Regions from separate parts of the Homo sapiens genome. Here region 2 is linked to region 1. Evidence: promoter capture Hi-C in human tissues and cell types (Jung and others, 2019). All regions are on one chromosome and are shown on one strand. Each heading gives the region's core, a stretch centred on a gene start or on the middle of the fragment in contact. The rest is flanking DNA. Distances are from core to core; before and after follow the strand shown. Region 1 holds the start of ARG1 (arginase 1). Region 2 has its middle 61 kb from the start of TMEM200A.

Region 1 (4,227 bases), core at 1,047-3,546:
GTTATCAAATTTGTGTCTGATGGACCAGATAACTCCACCTGTATTTGGATATGTGCATTTTGTTCTGGATGCCCTATTTAGGAAAGGCAGAGGGAAGCGAGATGTTTTGAAGACAGCGACCAAGTTGGTGACCTGAAGGAAAGTGGCAACTATGTAACACAAGAAATTAGTGAGGTATTTGGGAATATTCAGCCTAAACAATAGAAATCCAAGAAAGACATGACAGCCAAGAGATAATGTGCTTTACTTGGATTAAAGGGTGGTGACCAATGGTTCATATGACAGGAAGGCAATCTCAGCTTGGCATACAAAGAACTTTCAGGATGTGAATTTTTCAAAGAAAAAATTCTAGCAATCAAATTTGAAAGTTAGCAAATCTCCATGGATTGATTTATAAATCTAGTAAAAATTCTAGCAAATACTTTTAAGGAATTAGGTTATTCCAACTATAGGAGAATAGAGACCCATAAAAGGTAAATCAATTTTGAAAAAGAAGAGCAAAACAGTTACTCTTGCCTAAACAATGATAAGATGTACCGCAAAACTGTATTGATAAAACCTGATGGATCTGGTGCAGCCATAGGTAAATAAGTCAATGGAACAGAAGAAAGAGTTTAGTGACAGACAGCACTCCAATCAATTGCAAAATGAATGACTATTCAATGGGTGTTGTTGAGGAAACTGATGCATGAATGATAGAGGAAAAACGAGTTGGAAAATTTACATAACATACAAAGATGGATTCAGGAACTAAGTGAGAAAGATAAGCTCTAAGGCAAATGGAAGAAAATGTAAAACTACATACCTACAATTTGATGGGGTGGCAGGAATTTAATAAGACTTCCAAAGCACAAAGCATTCGGGGGAAATTATACAAGTGTCTATTTTAAAATTGAGGATTTTGAGTGATAACATATAAAAAGTTATCAGATTTCTGACAGGTTGGGAAAAGTTATTTGCAATGTCAATGCTATAAGGTTAATATCTAGGCAATATGAGGAATACCACAAGTAAATATTTAGGATATACAAGCAAACCCACAAGAAAAAGGTAGGAAACCTATTTGGAAAACAGTCCTATCAAAATGGACCCATGAGACTTTGGTTTCCTCATTTATCCATTCAATAAATATTTATTGAGTGCCTATTATACACCAACACTCTTCTAGGCCCTGGGGATACAGCAGACAAAATTCTCTGACCTCATGGAATTTAAATTCCAAAATGTTCTTTCCCACCAATAGGAAAAAGAAATTAGTTTCTACTAAGTGAATTTTCCCTTTAAATTACAATTACATAATTTTAAAGTCGGAAGGATCTTTAAGGTGCCTTTATTTTAAATTCATACTTTTGTATGGTGACAAATGGTAGCTCAGGGGCATAGAGGTTGACACCTTCCCAGCATTTAGACTATAAGCTCGACGGTTAAGTGGATTCAGAATGGCAGAGACTAAATCCCGACTTTTCTTCTACAGCCTATGTTGGCAACGGGTCTGAGCTTCAGTTTATTCATCAGTATAATGGCACCAATGATGAGACTTCACATAAAATTGGTATAAATATAAATATGGTATTTTGAAACAGAACTGCATCGGACACATGGTAAAAACTCAATGTTAGCTATTTTTATTTCTATACTTTGATTATGATATGATTCTACAATTATTTTCCTGTACACCATACTTCAAAAATGGTAACCTCTCTGGGTTACCAATCAAGTAACTAATTTTTTAAAGTAATCATCAAAAAAGGAAGTTATATACTCTTTATTATATTATACCCTAAAAGTTTATGAAATGTGTCTCATGGATTAACCATTTACCCTCATGTGTGAAATCTCAACTCAGGATTTTAGGGCTGGAAGGGATGTGACAGACGATCTTGCCAAGCCCGGCCCTTCTTCTACAAGGACGTCTTCAGAGATCTGGAGGAGGAAAGGGCCTTGCCCTGAGTTCGCTGAGCCAGAACAATAGGACTTCTTCTGTAGTTGTGAAACTTGTCAGTTGTTGAAGTCAGGTTAATGTCATCTGGCTGGCTTTTTAAAAGGGTGTGAAGTGAGAACATGAATAATTGTCACTTGATTAGAGACCTAGACTCAGAGTTAGGTTACTCCATGTATGAAGTAACCCCATATAGTTACTTCATACATGGAGTAACCATATAGTTACTCCATGTATGAAAAATTGCAAGACTGTTGACTGTCATTCTTTGGTTTAGTGGGTGGAGCCAGCTGTCCTCATTAGATAAAGGTTGTTTATTCAACCCAAGTATAAATGGAAAAAAAAGATGCGCCCTCTGTCACTGAGGGTTGACTGACTGGAGAGCTCAAGTGCAGCAAAGAGAAGTGTCAGAGCATGAGCGCCAAGTCCAGAACCATAGGGATTATTGGAGCTCCTTTCTCAAAGGGACAGGTAAGGAAAAAAGTCTTTCTTTGAATTCCTGGAATTTAGTTGAAAATTTTGGACTTCAAAATTTGTAAGGTGTTATTGTCTAGTTAGTTCAGTTTTCTGATACAATCTGGCCAGGAAATGCATATTTTAAAGTCCTCTCACCATTTTCCAACATTGTATAATTATAGTCACATATCCACTTACTTTTGTGGCTCGTGATCTCAGCCAAGGCTAAATTCATTTGAACCTACAGAATGTTTTCTCATATTTTTTAGGAGAAAATATTTTTCTTTGAATTGAAATGGACTCTTTCTGCATTGTAGCTACTCATTGAGGTTTAGTTGCTCTTGTTGTTTTTGATGTTACTGTGTGTATGTAGAGGAAGAGAGAATTTTAAGAAATACATTTGTTTAGTTATGTAATTAATGCCTAGAAAAATTTAATAGTTTGGTGGTAACCTTCAGGCTTCTTATAATTTGGATAACCTAAATATTATTGTTTCATGCAACTTTGTGAATAATTCATGTTATGTTAGGGTTTTAATGTTTCTATGAAACTGTTCATTCATGGACTAGGTAGAATCCTTTATGTGCCTCACTTGGAAGGGGAAAAAAAGAACAAAAAAAGAAAGAAAATCCTACTGCGGGTTGGCAACTCTAAAAGGATTTTAATGGATTTATGAAACCCCCAGATTTCCTTACAGCCACGAGCTGTGAATCCACACATGCCAGCAACATTGAATACACTTTTTTTTCTGCCTGGGCACACTTATTCTAGTAAAGAGAGTGTGATGACAGAACACCTTAGACTTCAACACGCATCTGTGCTTAAAGAGGATAAAAAACAAAGAACAAAATCAAACAAGACAATGTATGAGTTGAAACTACTAAGGTTGATTTTCTCCAGGTTTCTCAGGATCTGGGCAGCGTTTTGCTTCCTCTTAATTTGGAACCCTTGCTGTGTACTCTGACTTTTTACTGCAAAACAAATTGAGAGAGGCCAGAGGTTAGAGGCCCAAACTGCATTTGGACTGTCAGTAAATACTACTTTGCTTCCCCTGGAAATCCTCCAAAAGTCTCTCCCAAACACAGGGACATTTTGCTGACACAGAAATGTTCCTTTTAAAATCCACACTGTTCTCACCCACTCTTGAACAGGTTATAATAAATATATAATTTAAAAACCTCACAAAAGGGAAGCAAGTGTCCTCCTTCTACCACCCTCCTCCCATTAAAACATGGTCATGAGAATGGAGTTCATTGTCTCATGATTGTAAGGACTAAGAGAGAGAGATTTTTTACACTAAGTCATAGAGTAGAGAGGATAAAATGGCCAACATATAAGTATTTGTCCTCACCTAAAGGAGGTACAAGTTTGACAAATAAGCAAAAGGAAAGGATTAGAGGGCAGATGACTAAAATGTTGAGTCTGAGAAAGGGCTTCATCCCTGTCTCACCTCCTTGAAAGGCTTGCAAGGCAGCGAACAAACAATAAGGTAGGTATTATTTTTACCTTACAGTTGGGTTAAAAAAAAGCCCAGAGAGGTTTGGTAATGTGCTCAACGTCACACAGCCTTGACTGCATAATTCCAGACAAGATAATCTGATTCCAATGCCTATGCCCTTGATTTGCACTGATGTCTCTTCAGACTATTCAACTCCAAAGGCGACCTTATACTTGTGGCCATTTAGGGATTGGGCCCAGCTTAGAAAGTCGGTGGAGCTGACAAAGCAATTTCCAAAGTGGGCAGATAGAGCAAGCAAGAGGAAAGCCCAATCATGAGAAGCCATTTGAATAAAACAAATAAAAAAGAATTCTAGAAAATTTAATGGCTGTGT
Region 2 (4,227 bases), core at 1,291-3,790, 1.3 Mb before region 1:
CCAGAATCACAAATCACAATCTTTTCTGTTTCATATCACAGTACAGGAGAAAAAAATAGATACCCTCACACCACATATGGCCAATGACATCCAAATTATTCTTCTATGTCTGATCTCTCTGTTGAGGTCTGAACTAAAGCAGCTAGTGTCTATTGTAATGGAGCCAATATCTCCATTTAGGTACTTAATAGGCAACTTAAACTTAACATGGCCAAAAGGTTAACTCTATATTCCTCCTCAATCTGAACCTTTTCCTCTCCCAGGCCTTTCCATGAATAGAAATAAATGTATTTATTTATAGAAACTCATTTACCCAGTTGATTAAGCCAAAAAGTTTGGAGTCAAAATCAAATTTTTTCCTTTTCTTTAAAATCCACATACCATTCATCAGTGAGTTATGTTGGCCACACATGCAAAAACACATCTGGAATCCATCTGCTTCCTTTTTCTCCACTGCTCTACCACCCCAGTCCAAAATTCCATCACCATTCACCTAGCTTGCCTCTTAACTCCTGTCCCAGTTTTCACTATTGCACCTATATGCACTTTATTGGCCTGGTAATCTTTTAAAACAATATATAAAATAATGTCACCTCCATTCTGAATATATTCTACATTTTAATTCTTTATTTTGTATGTGTGTTGCAAGTCTATCTTCCAGTTTTTTTCGTGTTTTTATTATGTTTTGATTAACATAAGGTTTTAATTTTAAAGTTTTCGAATTTATAAATATTTTCCTTTAAGTTTGTCATTTTTGTTTTTTCTTTAATAAATTCTAACTTGAGTGTATAAACATTTATCTACATTTTCTCCTATATGTTTAAATGTTTTCCCTTTCAAATGTAAGTTTTAAATTTCCTGGGACTGATTTTTATGTATTATATGAGGTACATATCCAGCTTTTTTCTTACACGGTTAAACAATGGTTTTGTCAACATTGTTGAACAGTCCTAATTTTCCCATTGATCTGAAGTGCCACCCAGGCTGAAGTGCAGTGATGTGATCTCGGCTTACTGCAACCTCCGCCTCTTGGGTTCAAGCGATTCTCCTGCCTCAGCCTCCTGAGTAGCTGGGACTACAGACACATGCCACCATACCCAGCTAATTTTTGTATTTTTAGTAGAGACAGGGTTTCACCATGTTGGCCAGGCTGGTCTCGAACTCCTGACATCAGGTGATTCACCCGCCTCGGCCTCCCAAAGTGCTGGGTGAAGTGCCAAATTTGTTCATAAATCAAGTTTCCATAAATGTATAGATTAGTTGTTGGGCTTCTCTCTTTAGTTCCACTGAACACATTCTCTATGTCTATGCTAATATTACACTTTCATCTTAGTTGCTAGAGCTTTATGACTTTTTACTGAAGTTAAAACAAATCTCTCCACTTACTCTTTTGCTTTAGGAGAGTTTTGGCTCTTTTCCGGACTCTTGGAATTCAGTGCATAGAATCATCTTGCTAAGTTCCATGAAAAAAAATTATGCCGAAATTTTAATTTTATCCAAACTTTAAGTCGAGATTATAATTGATATTTAAAAAACTATATTGAGTCTTTCTAAAAAGATGGCGTATCACTCTACTTATTTAGGTATTTTAAGATATCTTTCAATAAACTTTTGTAATTTTTCTACAAAGTGCTTACATATTTTAATGGTTTTTACTTAGTTGCTACTATAAACACTAAAATTACATTTTCTTCCTTTTTTTTTTTTTTTTTTTTTTTTTTGAGACAGAGTCTCACTCTGCTGCCCAGGCTGGAGTGCAGTGGTGCAATCTTGGCTCACTGTAGCCTCTGTCTCCTGTGTTCAAGTGATTGTCATGCCTCAGCCTTTCAAGTAGCTGGGACCACACATGTGCATCAGCATGCCCTGCTAACTTTCTGTATTTTTAGTAGAGATGGGGTTTCACCATGTTGCGCAGGCTGGTCTTGAACTCCTGAGCTCAGGCAATCCGCCCACCTCAGCCTCCCAAAGTGTAAAATTACATTTTCTATTTGTTGCTGGTATATAGAAATGAAGTAGATTTATTTACATTGGTTTTATTTCTAGCAACACTGCTAAACTCTTATATATCCTAATATTTTTCTATATATTCTGTGGGTTTTATGTGTAAACTTTCAACTGTATCATCTAAAGAATTATAGTATTTGTTCTCAATTTTAAATACTTAATTCTTTGACTTATTTTTTCCTTATCTTACTACCCTGTCTATAATCTCCAGAACAATGTTGAACAGAAATTGTGATAGGAATAATAATTTTTCCTGATTCTAAAGAGAATGTTTATATTCTTTTAGAAAAATGATAGCAATAAGGCCTTTGTAGATTCCCTTTTTCATGTTATGAACATTCAATTCTACCAGTTAGATAAGAATTTTAGTCATGAATGGATATTAAATTTTGTTAAATATCTTTCCTGAGTCTGTAAAGAAGGTCATATGGTTTTCCTCCTTTCAGATATTATTGGGATGCAATGTGTTGATTGATCTGCTGATATTCAAACAACCTTGAAATCTTGGAATAAATACAACTTGGCAATCTCATCTTTTAAAATAAATTGCTAATGTGCTAATATTGCTAATGCTAATATTTTGTTTAGGACTTGTCCTAGTCTGTTTGGGCTTCTATAACAAAACACCATAAACTGCATAACTTACAAACAAAATAAATTTATTTCTCCTATTTCTGAATACTTGGAAGTCCAAGATCAAGATGGCAGCAGATTCAGTGTCCAGTGAGAGCCAGCTTTTGGTTCATAGATGATGCCTTACAATGTGTCCTCACATGGTGGAAGGAAAAGGCAGTTCTCTAGGGTCTCTTTTATAAGGACACTAATCCCACTGATCTAGTTACCTCCCAGAAGCTCCACCTTCCAATACTATCACACTAAGGATTAGGTTTCAACGTATGAATTGGGTAGGGAGTGTACAAACATTCAGACCATAGCAGGACATTTTTACTTAAAAAATATTTACTTTATCAACTATTCTTGGATTATTTAAGCACTAAATTAATCACTGTCTAAGCAGAAAAATATAGGATCATTTTAGACTTGCAAGAAGGTGAAATTTAAAACAGGAAATTAAATTTATTACAAAGTTGTTAGGAGAGTTAGAGGAACAAAAAAGGAAAGATTAATTACCCAATGAAGGTAAATGAGGGTTAGAGAAGCAAAAGAAAAATGATATTACCTGATGCCTATGTTTGCTACGATTCTGAGGCTGCTGTAGCTGGAAGGAAGTTGACTAAGCAGTTACTCTTCTGCTAAGCATCTACTCTCACAGGTGGCTGCCACCATGACAGCTAAATCTACCATGGCTGGTTGAACCGACAGAAATTAGAAACAAATTGCTTCTATTCCACTAACTGTCCAGTCTCTTGTCAGTGCCTCACATTAGCAGGAACAAACAGGAAGCCAGATGGCAAGGAGATTATGAAATATAGCTTGCAGACTTCCAGCCCCAAAGATAAGTGTATACAGGGCAAGTATGGAGTAGAGAGAAAACATTAGACATCACAGTATCAAGATTTATACTAACCTTATAGAATGAGACAGAGAATGTTCTTTCTTTTTCTATTCTTTGAAAGAGTTCATGAACATGAAACTATTAATTAATATTTGCCAGAACCAACTGATAAACCATCTCATCCTGGTGTTTTCTTTCTATAATGATATTTTAAGCTACTGATTAAAGTTTTAACTACTACTTCACTACTGAGGTTCTATTTCTAAAATGTGACAAAAGATGCGGATGATCTAGCTATTGTTCTGACTTATTCTCTCATTCTCTCTGTTTCCTAGCCTTTTTGAATCATTTTAATACATTTTTACTGTATTTTTTGTGCTTCTGGACACACTTTCATGTATCTAAAGAATTCTGTGATATTTGTGAATTCACAAAGATCAAACTTTATACACATATCTAAACTTACACATGGAGTGAAAAGAAGCATTCCCTAAATGTGAGAGATTATACATGGGGTGAATGCAGTTGTGAGCAAGGCTCACAAGGGCATGAGATCTGTGCAGGTCCACAGGGCCGTCTCTTGCACTGTAATGCTCTGCTGTTGCTGTCTTGGAGTTTTTAATTTTTGAACAAGAGGTCCCACATTTTTATTTTGCATGGGTCTCTGAAAAATTACGTAGCTAATCTTTTTGTGAGCATTGGGAGAGATAGATTTGGAGTTAAGCTTTCTTTTCCTTCTTTTCTTTGTAATTAACTGTGAAAATAAG

What was found. The method cuts DNA at HindIII sites, captures the fragments that hold promoters and counts their contacts. A contact is called where the count stands out against the background at its distance.
Region 2: a contact is called between a fragment that was not itself captured here and the fragment with the promoter of ARG1 in region 1, in 1 of the 25 tissues and cell types used here (dorsolateral prefrontal cortex).

What each region holds. Positions count from the first base shown.
Region 1 is chr6:131,570,930-131,575,156 of GRCh38, forward strand. It overlaps ARG1 (arginase 1), which reads left to right and starts at 2,297. Exons shown (of 8, transcript NM_000045.4): 1 at 2,297-2,410. The coding sequence starts at 2,354. It also overlaps a transcript of MED23 not described here. RefSeq lists an enhancer at 1,763-2,264. The HindIII fragment of the contact is 11,485 bases long and covers 1-4,227 here.
Region 2 is chr6:130,303,232-130,307,458 of GRCh38, forward strand. It overlaps a transcript of SAMD3 not described here. Among named protein-coding and RNA genes, the nearest start is that of TMEM200A, 61 kb to the right of the region's middle. The HindIII fragment of the contact is 3,594 bases long and covers 744-4,227 here.